4 separate regions of the Homo sapiens genome follow, and all the other regions are linked to region 2. The links are contacts of gene promoters, found by promoter capture Hi-C in human tissues and cell types (Jung and others, 2019). All regions are on one chromosome and are shown on one strand. The core of a region is centred on a gene start or on the middle of the fragment in contact, and the rest is flanking DNA. Distances in the headings are between cores, read along the strand shown.

Evidence for each region. Contacts are between HindIII fragments. The study calls those that stand out against the background at their distance.
Region 1: a contact is called between a fragment that was not itself captured here and the fragment with the promoter of ZNF440 in region 2, in 1 of the 25 tissues and cell types used here (spleen).
Region 3: a fragment that was not itself captured here is called in contact with the fragment with the promoter of ZNF440 in region 2 in 2 of the 25 tissues and cell types used here (dorsolateral prefrontal cortex and pancreas).
Region 4: a contact is called between the fragment with the promoter of TSPAN16 here and the fragment with the promoter of ZNF440 in region 2, in 1 of the 25 tissues and cell types used here (bladder).

What each region holds. Positions count from the first base shown.
Region 1 is chr19:12,366,995-12,370,142 of GRCh38, reverse strand. It overlaps a transcript of ZNF442 not described here. Among named protein-coding and RNA genes, the nearest start is that of ZNF442, 2.9 kb to the right of the region's middle. The HindIII fragment of the contact is 4,297 bases long and covers 1-3,148 here.
Region 2 is chr19:11,812,370-11,815,670 of GRCh38, reverse strand. It overlaps ZNF440 (zinc finger protein 440), which reads right to left and starts at 1,398. Exons shown (of 4, transcript NM_152357.3): 1 at 1,221-1,398. The coding sequence starts at 1,223. RefSeq lists silencers at 994-1,063, 1,484-1,563, 3,298-3,301. The HindIII fragment of the contact is 18,958 bases long and covers 1-3,301 here.
Region 3 is chr19:12,496,234-12,499,288 of GRCh38, reverse strand. No RefSeq gene overlaps it. Among named protein-coding and RNA genes, the nearest start is that of ZNF709, 13 kb to the right of the region's middle. RefSeq lists an enhancer at 3,007-3,055. The HindIII fragment of the contact is 4,297 bases long and covers 1-3,055 here.
Region 4 is chr19:11,294,287-11,297,752 of GRCh38, reverse strand. It overlaps TSPAN16 (tetraspanin 16), which reads right to left and starts at 1,593. Exons shown (of 7, transcript NM_001282509.2): 1 at 1,387-1,593. The coding sequence starts at 1,455. The HindIII fragment of the contact is 22,007 bases long and covers 1-3,466 here.

The DNA.
Region 1 (3,148 bases), core at 57-2,556, 550 kb before region 2:
TACATCATTATATATTACAATGTAATAATATTTAAGTGCACAATCAATGTAATGTACTTGAATCACCCCAAAACCATCCCCACTCCAGTACATGGAAAAATTATCTTCTAAGAAACTAGTCCCTGTGCCAAAAAGGTTAGGAACTGCTGGTTTAGATCACTGATACCTTATTGTAAGATGAAAATCCCCACCCACAGAAGAAAGTCACGGCAGCTTTCTCGTCGTGTTTTTTTTTTTTTAGATGGAGTCTAGCTTTGTCGCCAGGCTGGAGTGCAGTGACACGATCTCAGCTCACTGCAACTTCTGCCTCCTGGGTTCAAGTGATTCTCCTGCCTCAGCCTCCTGAGTAGCTGGGATTACAGGCATGCACCACCACGCCCAGCTAATTTTTATTTTATTTTATTGTTTTAGTAGAGACGGGGTTTCACTATGTTACCCAGGATGGTCTCGATCTCCTGACCTCGTGATCCGCCTGCCTCAGCCTCCCAAAGTGCTAGGATTACAGGTGTAAGCCACTGCGCCCGGCCCATTGTTTTGTTTTGAGATGGAGTTTCGCTCTTGTTGCCCAGGCTGGAGTGCTCACTGCAACCCCTGCCTCCTGGGTTCAAGCGATTCTCTTGCCTCAGCCTCCCAAGTAGCTGGGATTATAGGCGTGCACCACCATGCCTGGCTAATTTCGTATTTTTAGTAGAGATGGGGTTTCTCCATGTCGGTCAGGCTGGTTTCAAACTCCCGACCTCAGGTGATCCACCCGCCTCGGCCTCCCAAAGTGCTGGGATTACAGGCGTGAGCCACTGCACCCGGCTGGCCTTTTGAACATGTGTGGTATAAAGAGACATGTTTATGATTTGTGAACATCTGAAGTTCCTTTCTACCCATATTACAAACTTCCCCTTCCCATATCTAGCTGCTTAAAATTACCCAGCTTCCCACAGCTCTAGGAGGAGGAAGTATCTTCGGAGCAAGAGCTGACTCTGACCCCTTCTCCTTCTCTGGCCAGAAAATAAATCCTGCTTGCCTTTTTTTTTTGTTCCATTAGGTATTCTTTCTTTGTGACTCATACAAACTAGAGAAAGAACTCAGTTTACCAGTGACACTTGTATTTCATACAAATATGGGAAATCTTTATATTTTCAAATTCTAATGCCTTGGCTTTTGATTGGAGCATTTAATTCATTAATATTTAAAGTCTTGAAGGAGAGAGCATTTTCACACTGCGCAGAGGACACAGGAGGGCAAGTTGAGCTCCCTCATCCCTAAATCCTTCAGTGCCTCTGCCCCATCACCAGGTGCTGATCCCACTTGTAACTGGCAAAAGGGTCTGGCTGCTCACCGCGTGTGGAAAGAAGTCAAAATAATAATGAGTTGTGATAAGAGGGAACGAGATTTCTTTATTATCTGTCCTAGCAGGGGAAGAGCAGAAAGCAATTCCACTGTTCAATTTGTGGAGAGAACCCAGGGGTTTTTAAAGAAAGGGTTTGGAATGCAGAAGAGGCAAGCGGGGCTAGAGGTACCAGGTGGCGTGACTTGCTCTGGTTGCCCCTCTTGAATTATTGTCCCATTTGGTGAAGGGACTTCTCCGTCGTGGATCCTGCCAGGTTATACATTAGTTGCAGTCAATCTTGTAGTCTGTTGCGGGAACTAAGGGACCCCGAATGGAGGGACCGGCTGAAGCCACGGCAGAAGAACATAAATTGTGACGATTTCATGGACATTTATCAGTTTCCAAAATTAATACTTTTATAATTTCTTACGCCTGTCTTTACTGCAGTCTCTGAACATAAATTGTGAAGATTTCATGGACATTTATTAGTTCCCAAAATTAATACTTTTATAATTTCTTATGCCTGTCTTACTTTAATCTCTTAATCCTGTTATCTTCGTAAGCTAAGGATGTATGTCACCTCAGGACCCCGTGATGATTGCATTAACTGTACAAATTGTTTGTAAAACATTTGTATTTGAATGATATGAAATCAGTGCACCCTGAAAAAGAATAGAATAACAGCGATTTTCTGGGAACAAGGAAAGATAACCATAAGGTCTGACTGCCTGTGGGGTTGGGCAGAATAAAGCCATATTTTTCTTCTTGCAGAGAGCCTATAGACGGACATGTGAGTAGGAGAAATATCACTGAATTCTTTTCCCAGCAAGGAATATTAATAATTGAGACCCTTCCAGGTGTGGTGGCTCATGCCTGTAATCCCAGCACTTTGAGAGGCCGAGGCGGGTGGATCACAATATCAGGAGATCGAGACCATCCTGGCTAACACGGTGAAACCCCTTCTCTACTAAAAATACAAAAAATTAGCCGGGCATGGTGGCACGCGCCTGTAGTCCCAGCTACTTGGGAGGCTTAGGCAGGAGAACAGTGTGAACCCAGGAGGCAGAAGTTGCAGTGAGCCGAGATTGTGCCACTGCACTCCAGCCTGGGGGACAGAGCGTGAGACTCTGTCTCAAAAAAATATATATAATAATAATAATTGAGACCCTGGGGAAGGAATGCATTCCTGGGGGTAGGTCTATAGATGGCTGCTCTGCGAGTATCTGTCTTAATGCAGTTGAGATAAGGACTGAAATACGCCCTGGTCTCCTGCAGTGCCCTCAGGCTTACTAGGATTGGGAAGTTCCAGCCTGGTAAATTCTAGTCAGACTGGTTGTCTGCTCTCGAACCCTGTTTCCTGTTAAGATGTTTATCAAGACAGTGCATGCACAGCAGGACACAGACCCTCATCAGTAATTCTAATTTTGCCTTTGCCTTGTGATCTTTTATTGCCCTTTGAGGCATGTGATCTTTGTGACTTACTCCCTGTTCGTACACCCCCTCCCCTATTAGAATCCCTAATAAAAACTTGCTGGTTTTGCAGCCCAGGTGGGCATCATGGAACCTGCCGATATGTGATGTCACCCCTGGAGGCCCAGCTGTAAAATTCTTCTCTTTGTACTCTTTCTCTTAATTTCTCAGATGGGCCGACACTTAGGGAAAATAGAACCTACGTTGAAATATTGGGGGCTGGTTTCCCCGATAGTAGTCACTCTTCAGCTGGGTGTGGGTTCTGTCTTTGAAGTAATCTTTTGTTGGAAAGAGAATTCCAGAGGTGCCTGGTACCTAACAAGATCCAACCCCTGAAGCTTCTAAGGAAATATA
Region 2 (3,301 bases), core at 149-2,648:
GGCCTCCCAAAGTGCTGGGATTACAGGCGTGAGCCACCGCGCCCGGCCCTAAACTCTTTAATTGTTAACGTACCTCAGTTTAATTTTTAACAGAAAAAAGTGGGCACTGGGGACCCCAAAGACCGCTACTCCTCCCACACGAACCTGTCAGAGATGATAAATTACTTTTCTAAAAGCTTTAGTAAGCTGTTCTTTGTTTCTTGAGACCGACTTCCTTGTCTCCTAGCTACCTGTTCTGTAAACAACCTTCCCGCTTTTGCCGCGCCCAGACAAGTCCAGATACGCCTTCCCGCCTAGTAACGGACAGTCCCTGTTCCTTCCCGTCTCATAGACCCTATTTAATTTGTGTGTGTGTGTGTGTGTGTGTGTGTGTGTGTGTGTGTGTGACGGAGTTGCCCAGTTGTCTCGCTCTGTTGCCCAGGCTGGAGTACAGTGGTGCGATCTCGGCTCACTGCAAGCTCCACCTCCCGGGTTCACGCCATTCTCCTGCCTCAGCCTCCCGAGTAGCTGGAACTACAGGCGCCCGCCACCATACCCAGTTAATTTTTTTGTATTTTTAGTGGAGACGGGGTTTCACCGTGTTAGCCAGGGATGGTCTCGATCTCCTGACCTCGCGATCCGCCTGCCTCGGCCTCCCAAAGTGCTGGGGTTACAGGCGTGACCCACCGCGCCTGGCCAGACCCTATTTAATTTTAAACCTTAGCCTATCGAGTTAGTTTAGATTGTGAGGTCCAACCCTAGCCAATGAGGAAAGGACACAGAAGTGCTAGAAACTGCGTTAAGGAGAAAAACCCCTGCCCTACCCCGCTCGCTGTGCTCTTGTGACTGGCGCAAGCTGCACCCTTGTGTAGAAATAAATTTGCTTTGCTGAGGAATTTTCTGCCTAGATGCTGGTTTTCTTTGCGGCACCGGGCACTTGTTTCTAACAAACCCCATATCCGAGGCGGGATCCCCCCATATCCCTCCCGTGGCCCCCGCATAATGTGGGGAGACGCGGAGCTGCCCAGATTAGGCTCCGGAGCCGGGGCCGCAGTCGCCGTGAAGGGACGGGACAGGAGGCCCGGGGTCCCGGCTGCCGGCCCAGCCCCACCCTGCGACCGAGGGGACTCGCGTCCACGACCCCGGAGTCGCCGCGTGGAGGCCCGGGTCCCGCCTCAGCCGGTTCCGGCCGATTCCAGCCCCTCTCCCAGTCGCCCGGACGCCAGCCCCCTCACACACACCATTTCTCGGCTTCCAGGGTGTTCCGGCGTCCTCTGCGTGGCTCCCGCGACTAGTGTAGGTCACAGTGCAGGTTACAGAGCGACAGAAGCTCTGGTGGAGGCACCTAGTCCCTCTCGAAGCAAGAAAGCCGAGATCCTGACCGCTGTCGGCGCAGCACTAAAGGAATGGACGGAGGGCGACTGTCCCTTCCCCCTTCCCCGGATGGACAGTTGACAGGGCCCCGCCCCAGCACCCCTGATTGGATGGGGCGCCAGGCCCCGCCTCCTCCGTGCTGAGTGACAGCAGAAGCCCTGGGTAACCGGGTCCTGCAGATCATGTCTGACTTGTTCTGGCCACAGCGTCTCTGAGCGAGCAGCCTCTCTAAGCGAGCAGCCTCTCTAAGCGAACAGCCTCTCTAAGCGAGCGCCTTCCTTGAGCCCTGGTCATCAGATATTTGCATTTCAAGGCGACTTGCTCCTTATTGTTAGAAGAGGCACTGTTAGCTTCCTCATTCAAGGGGCTGTCCCTGCTCCTTCCTTCTGCACGGGATCACAAGTGTGTGCAGGGCATTTCAGACTCAGTGTTCAATGGAGAGATACGCTTGCCTCAGAGCAGGAGGGGAGCCCAGACCAGGCAAGGCACGACTGCACCAGGAGAGAGAGGCAGATGTCTTCCAGCGTGCGGGAAATGGGATGAGGCATGGCCAAGGCTTCCTCACACTGCTATGGACTCCAGCAAGGTTTTCCTTGTAAGGGAGCTAACCAAGCCAGAACTTATTAAAGATTTAGAGGCTCTCAGTACTATGTATATCTATCCCTGGTGCATTGACAGTGACTGAAGACCCATTTTTCAGGACATGCTGTGTAGGACTGAGCCAGGGAACATGATATAGCATGGCACTTTTATCTCACATATAACCCCCAAGGAGCAGGGTTAACTGAAATGAAAGATGGTCTCAGGGGAAGCTGTAAATGAGAAATTCTGTCATAGAAATTATGATTTAGGCAGGCCGGGCGCGGTGGCTCATGCCTGTAATCCCAGCACTTTGAGAGGCTGAGGCAGGTGGATCACGAGGTCAGGAGTTCAAGACCAGCCTGGCCAACATGGTGAAATCCTATCTCTACTAAAAATACAAAAATTAGCCAGGAATGGTGGCGCATGCCTGTAATCCCAGCTACTTGAAAGGCTGAGGCAGGAGAATTGCTTGAACCGGGAGGCAGAGTTTGCAGTGAGCCAAGATCGTGCCACTGCATTCCAGCCTGAGACACAGTGAGACTCCATCTCAAAAAAAAAAAAATTATGTTTTAGCCATCTTTTTTTGAGACGGGGTCTCACTCTGTCGCCCAAGCTGGAGTGCAGTGGTGCGATGGCTACTCAATGCAGCCTCAACCTCCCAGACTCAAGCAATCCTCCCACCTCAGCCTCCTAAGTAGGTGGGACTACAAGTGCCTGCCACCATGCCTGGCTAGTTTTTTATTTTTGGTAGAGATGAGGTCTCATTCGGTTGTTCAGGTTGATCTCAAACTCCTGAGCTTAAGTGATCCTCCAGCCTCAGCCTCCCAAAGTGTTGGGATTACAGGTGTGCGCCTGGCCTCTTGGGCATCTTCATTGCTCCACACCTTACAATGATAAATTCAATATTCTGTGAATATTTCCTGGAGAAATTAGCACAGCCATAACTTGTGATAAGGTAAATCAGGTGTTGAAATTTGAACATTCCTGGAAACTTCATTTAATAAACCTAATTTTGCTTATGTGTGAAAGTATTCATACATATTCATTGTTCAGACACAGATAACCATGGCAAGATGAGGTGCTATGAAAAACTATGTTGGGACAACAGGTACTATCAAGGATTATCACTGGCAAACCGGGACACATGGTCAGATGATTTCTGAGGCAGTTTTGTACCTTATGTAAAGGTAGAAAGTGTTGGAACTAGAAGACATCGAGCTGGAGTCAGTTGCAGAATTGATGCTTTGCTTGGCATGTGGGGGACACTTCTCAAATATTTGCATTTGGTCACAGAAGTATTCCGTGTTGTGTGAGAGCAGAGGAAAAAGAGTAGACTTTTTTTCCACTCTTAAGTCTCAGCACAACT
Region 3 (3,055 bases), core at 262-2,761, 680 kb before region 2:
TAGTAGAGACAAGGGTTCTCCATGTTGGTCAGGCTGGTCTCGAACTCCAGACCTCAGGTAATCCGCCTGCCTCGGCCTCCCAAAGTGCTGGGAATACAGGTGTGAGCCACCGCGCCTGGCCTGCAATTGCTTGTTTTAATAAAGAAACACTAATAGGATGCACAAGGAATTACCAAAAGTTTTTACGAAGGGCGGGGTGGCTGGAGCAAGAATCCTGGAATGAACCAGGATATGCTTGACAGTGAGTCTTATGTTAGATTTTCCTGTCTCATAGATTTTTTTTTTTAACCTTCACATGTATTATCTCTCTAAAATGAATGGAGGCCTGGTGCAGTGGCTCACACTTGTAATCCCAGCACTTTGGGAGGCCGAGCTAGGAGGATCACTTGAACTCAAGAGTTCAAGACCAGCCCGGGCAACCCTGCCGGTTGGTGAAACCCTGCCTCTACAAAAAATACAAAAATTAGCCAGGCATGGTGGTATGTGCCTGTAGTTCCAGCTACTCAGGAGGCTGAGTTGGGAGGATCACTTGAGCAGGGGAGGCTGAGGCTGCAGTGAGCTATGATCGATCGTGCCACTGTACTCCATCCTGGGTGACAGAGCAAGACCCTGTCTAAAAATATACATTAAAAAGGCCGGGCACGGTGGCTCACGCCTGTAATCCCAGCACTTTGGGAGGCCGAGGCAGGCAGATCACCTGAGGTCAGGAGTTCGAGACCAGCCTGACCAACATGGAGAAACCCCATCTCTACTAAAAATACAAAAAGATTAGCTGGGCATGGTGGCACATGCCTGTAATCCCAGCTACTCGGGAGGCTGAGGCAGGAGAATCACTTGAACCTGGGAGGTGGAGGTTGCTGTGAGCCAAGATTGTGCCATTGCACTCCAGCCTGGGCAACAAGAGTAAAACTCCGTCTCAAAAAAAATAAAAAATAAAAAAATAAAATGAACGAAGATATTTATCTGCACTATATTTTACTATTAAAGTCTTTAAATAATGTAGTTTTTTTTAAATTTTAAGTTGTCTTCATTAAGATTTAATCCTTTATACACTTTTAAAAGTGTAAACTATACGAAATGTAAAATTTCAAATCTTAAGAGAATCTGCATCATAGCATGTCTGTCCACTGTATCTCACACTGAGGGGTATTTTCAGGAAAGAGTAGCATATTATAGATTGGGCGCGGTGGCTCACGCCTGTAATCCCAGCACTTTGGGAGGCCGAGGCGGGCGGATCGCGAGGTCAGGAGATCGAGACCATCCTGGCTAACATGGTGAAACCCCAGCTCTACTAAAAATACAAAAAAATTAGCCAGGCGTGGTGATGGGCACCTGTAGTCCCAGCTACTCGGGAGGCTGAGGCAGGAGAATGGCGTGAACCCGGGAGGTGGAGCTTGCAGTGAGCCGAGATGGCGCCACTGCACTCCAGCCTGGGCAACAGAGCAAGACTCAGTCTCAAAAAAAGAGTAGCATATTATAATACATTAGGGTTTGGATATAACCATTAAATGTAGTAGAATTTTTCAAAGATTACACAAGCTTTGAGGAGTAGTTTTCCTCGTATCAATTAAAACAGGAATCCATTTGCCCTGGGAATAGTAGAGCCTTTGAAGTTTGAAAGTTTTCTAGGGATATGCACACACACAAACTAATGTAAAAATAAAAATGCACCTGAGAAGTTAAACATATCCATCTCACACCATGAGCTTCTTTTGCCTGAAAGGAATAAAAATTCTATTTGGTTCCAGGATTTGCTTCTCTTACATCATATTTCTCAATCAACTTAAATTTTCAAAGACCAACAAACTAAAAATCCTACAGACTCATACAGGGAATAAAATTACAAAATGTTAAAGGAAACTGGAGTTAAAGTGCTGCAATATTCAATAGAAAAAGGAATCCAAAGGAAAGAAACACAAACATTGAATCAGCTCAGATAAGCAGCCTGCTTCTCCGCAATTCAGAAGAAAAACCAACATCCAGAAGGTTAAACACATACCAAAGCTTGGAGTCCACACTCTCTCCCTGTTAGGGTATAGTCCCTAGAGTGGAATAGTCCCTGGTGACAGCAGGGACACCTGAGCAGCCACAGGAATGAACTCCGGGAGCAGAGAATGCCCCTTCCCACTGGTTCTCGTAAGTGACGAAACTGTCAGCTGGATTCAGATGAAGGTTCTGACACAAATGAACTCCCAAAGTCATTAACACCATGTCCAGGAGACAGAACTTGTAACTTTCACAGACTTTTTCAATATGGAAAAATTACACCACGAGTGTACCCTAATGTGAAAGCAAAACTCAAACCTAATGTCTAAAAGTAGACCCAAGGAAACTACAATTACAACCTAGACAATTAAAACCCTCCCGGTTCTCCTAAAACCGCGTGCGGTTCCCAGCATTCCAGTGCTCTGTAGCTTCTCTCTGTATAAAGAGCTCTTTCCTTGGTGGGTGAGAGCAAGTAGGACACTTTTGGGGAAGGCTCCCCAGGAAGACCCATCTGGGCTTTCAATGACCTCCCTTTGCAGGCTCAAGAGTGGTCTTAGCTTGAAGTCACTAGTCTCTGGCTGCTGCTCCCCAGTCATGGGGCTTTCAACCGCTATTGATGTTTATTTTTTTGAGACAGGGTCTCCCTCTGTCACCCAGGCTGTAGCGCAGTGGCGAGATCATAGCTCACCGCAGCCTCGACCTCCAGGGCTTGGGCTTAAGTGAGCCTCCCACCTCAGCCCCCTGAGTAGCTGGGACTACAAGCACAGGCCATCATGCAGCTAATTTTTGTATTTTTAGTAGAGACGAGGGTTTCACCATGTTCGCCAGGCTGGTCTCGAACTCCTGACCTCAAATGATCCACCCACCTCGGCCTCCCAAAGTGCTGGGATTACAGGCGTGAGCCATCACGCCCAGTTGAAAGACGGGAACTTTCAAAGTTGCTTTTCTGGTAAAAGTTAAAGCAGAGGGGACTTTCTTTATCATGTTGGCTAAAACTGGCCTGTTGGGGATTTGACCAGCATCTCTTTCTCTCCTGATAATTTGTAAGGTCAGATAAACAACTTAGTTT
Region 4 (3,466 bases), core at 344-2,843, 520 kb after region 2:
GGCCGAAGCAGGTGGATCACCTGAGGTCAGGAGTTCGAGACCAGCCTGGCCAACATGGCGAAACCCTGTCTCTACTAAAAATACAAAAATTGGCCGGGCGTGGTGGTGGGCACCTGTAATCCCAGCTACTCAGGAGGCTGAGGCAGAAGAATCGCTTAAACCTGGGAGGTGGAGGTTGCAGTGAGCTGAGATCATGCCACTGCACTCCAGCCTGGGTGACAGAGCAAGACTCCGTCTCAAAATAAAATAAAATAAAATAAAATAAAATAATGTCATAGGACAGGGATTAGCAATTTTTTTTTTCTGAAAAACCCAGATGTTGTGGCCTCTGCAGGACTTAAGGTGTCTGTTGAAACTACGCAGTTCTATTGGTGTAGCCCAAAAGCAGCTGTTCACAATCTCCAAATAAGTGAGCACGGCCATGTTCCAATAACACTTTATTTTGTATTATTATTTTTTAAATAGAGATGGGGATCTCACTATAGCTGGTCTCGAGCTCCTGGCTCAATGGATCTGCCCACCTCGGCCTCCCAAAGTGCTGGGATTACAGGCATGAGTCACCACAGCCGGCCTTAATTCTCTTTAAAATGTTACAAGTGAAGAGGAGGAGTGATATTTCATTTCCTTCTCTTTCCTGGCAGCTTTTCCTTAGACTATGCTACAATGAAGACAATTACTTCTTTTTATGTTTTTATTCTTTTATTTTTTTATTGAGACAGAGTCTCGCTATGTTGCCCAGGCTGGAGTGCAGTGACACAATCTCGGCTCACTGCCAACCTCTGCCGCCCAGGTTCAAGCAATTCACATGCCTCAGCCTCCTGAGTAGCTGGGATTATAGGCACGTGCCACCACGCCCATCTAATTTTTTTGTATTTTTAGTAGAGATGGGGTTTCCCCATATTGACCAAGGCTGGTCTTGAACTCCTGACCTCGTGATCCACCCGCCTTGGCCTCCCAAAGCGTTGGGATTACAGGCATGAGCCAGCGCCCCCGGCCTGACAATTCCTTAGCAATGTACATTTCGGGTTACTTTTACGGTAAGGAAAAAAATGTGACAAATTTAAAAGATCAAGAAAATAACCCTTTCTCCTGGCCTTCCCAAACAACTTGGTCGGCTACAGGATTTGACTTAGAGCCAAGCTCTTCCATCACCCACCTGGGCTCCCCCAGATCACACTCATCTGTGCTGGATTTCACCAGCTCTCGGTTGATGGAGGTCCCCACGCTCCCTGCTCCTCCTCCTCCGTCTGCCCTACATCCCTCCTGCTTCTCCAGGGAACCACAGATCTCGATGCCAATTTGGATCAACTTATTTCTGTCTTTCAGGGAGCTGACTGTGGAGGAAGGGCTGCAACAAACCAGGGGCCTGGATTGTGACATACTTACAGCCACGAAGCCATTGAGTAAAGATAACAGTTTCTTCAAGGAAGAATACGGAGTGTGGATTTCAGCCATGCTGAACAGACTGGGGCACCCTGAACATTTAAGTTAACATCTTCCTGAACCTCTGGGCTACTGTTTCCCAAGATGATAGGGATCTGAGGAAGGGGCGCCAATGCTGACTTGCTCTGCCCCTCTGTGTCCTGGCTGCCTGATGGTTGTCCAAGGCGGCCCAGCAGCTGCCCCCTGCCCTGGTCATAAGCCTTTTATCACATCACAATTGGGTTCTGGAGCAAGGCTCATGGTCCAGGGAAATCAGGTGCCCCAAACTGCCCCCTGTTGGCTCCTCATCCTTCAAACAGGTCACAGCAGGGAAAGAGAACAGGCATGGTATGCTACCCTGGTACCCTCCAGATGCCACCAGGACCCTGTGGGCATAGTGCCCAGAGCTAACCACTTGCACAGTTGACATCTCCTAGTAGACTGGGGGATCCAAGCGGGGGAGGGGGGAACTTGGGCTGTCCTATTAACAGCTGTGACCCCTGCCAGGCGCAGTGGCTCACACCTGTAGTCAAAGCATGTTGGGAGGCGGAGACGGGCGAATCACCTGAGGTCAGGAGTTTGAGACCTACTAACAATACAAACAATACAAAAATTACCTGGGTGTGGTGGCACACGCCTATAATCCCAGCTACTTGGGAGGCTGGGGCAGGAGAATCACTTGAACCCAGGAGGTGGAGGTTGCAGTGATCTGAGGTCGTGCCATTCCACTCCAGCCTGGTTGACGGAGTGAGACTCTGTCTCAAACAAAACAAAACAAAAACAAAAACAGCTGTGTCCCCAAAGCCTGGCACTGCAGTACTTAAGAAACCCGCGGAGAATGAATGAATGGATCCAGAGGCTCTGTGATGCAGAAATCTAGCTACAAGCCACCGGGCCTCCCAAGCCCAAGCCCATACTTGGCCCATCCTTCATACAGGGCTCAGAGAGGCCAAGGGAACTGCCTGAGGCCACACAGGAAGCAAGACCAGGCTTTGAAGCCCCAAGAGTAACATGAGGGCAGGAACCTGTAAGGCAGAGAGTCCTGGAACTGTGAGCCATTGGTCACTGGGTTTTTTTCTTTTGAGACAGGATCTTGCTCCATTGCCCAGGCTGGAGTGCAGTGGTGTGATCATGGCTTACTGCAGCCACGACCTCCCTGGCTCAAGTGATCCTCCCACCTTAGCCTCCCAAGTAGCAGGTCATTGGGCTTTTCTCCATGGTGATAGATGTAGTTAGCATTTCAGGACCAAAAACCTTCTGTATGTCAGCACTGAAGACCTCCAGGCCTAGATCCTGCAGTCTGTAGCCCACTTTGCCCCCATACCTCCCCACCCTAACCATAGCAGCTTCACATTGCCCCACCCCGATCCCCTCTCTGTCCAGCCCTGGGCTGGGGTGTGTCTGGGTCCAGGTCCTGCATGGATTGGGGGAAGGCGGATGGTTCAAATGGGAGAAAATACCTTACACTTTAATTAATTTAATGAATGTCTGTCAAATCGCCTGCTTCTTGGAACATGTAGAACTAAGCAAGATGTTCACAGAGGAGTGCTGTCTCCTCCTGGACCACGGGTGCTGTTCACAGCCAGGAGTGTGTCCTTCCACACCTTTATTTAAGAGGTCATTTGAAGCCAGGCGCGGTGGCTCACGCCAGTAATCCCAGCACTTTGGGAGGCCGAGGTGGGTAGATCACGAGGTCAGGAGATCGAGACCATCCTGGCTAATGCAGTGAAACCCTGTCTCTACTAAAAATACAAAAAATTAGCCGGTTGTGGTGGCGGGTGCCTGCAGTCCCAGCTACTCGGGAGGCTGAGGCAGGAGAATCTCTTGAACCCGGGAGGCGGAGGTTGCAGTGAGCCGAGACCACATCACTGCACTCCAGCCCGGGAGACAGAGGGAGACTCCTCCGTTTCAGGAAAAAAAAAAAAAAAAAAAAAAGGTCATTTGAAGTAAGGAACCTCAGAACCAGGGGCTGAGGGCCTGGAAATGGGGGCACAAAAGAGGGTGATAAATGGGCATGCAAGAGAGCATTGGAAAATGTAGGGGG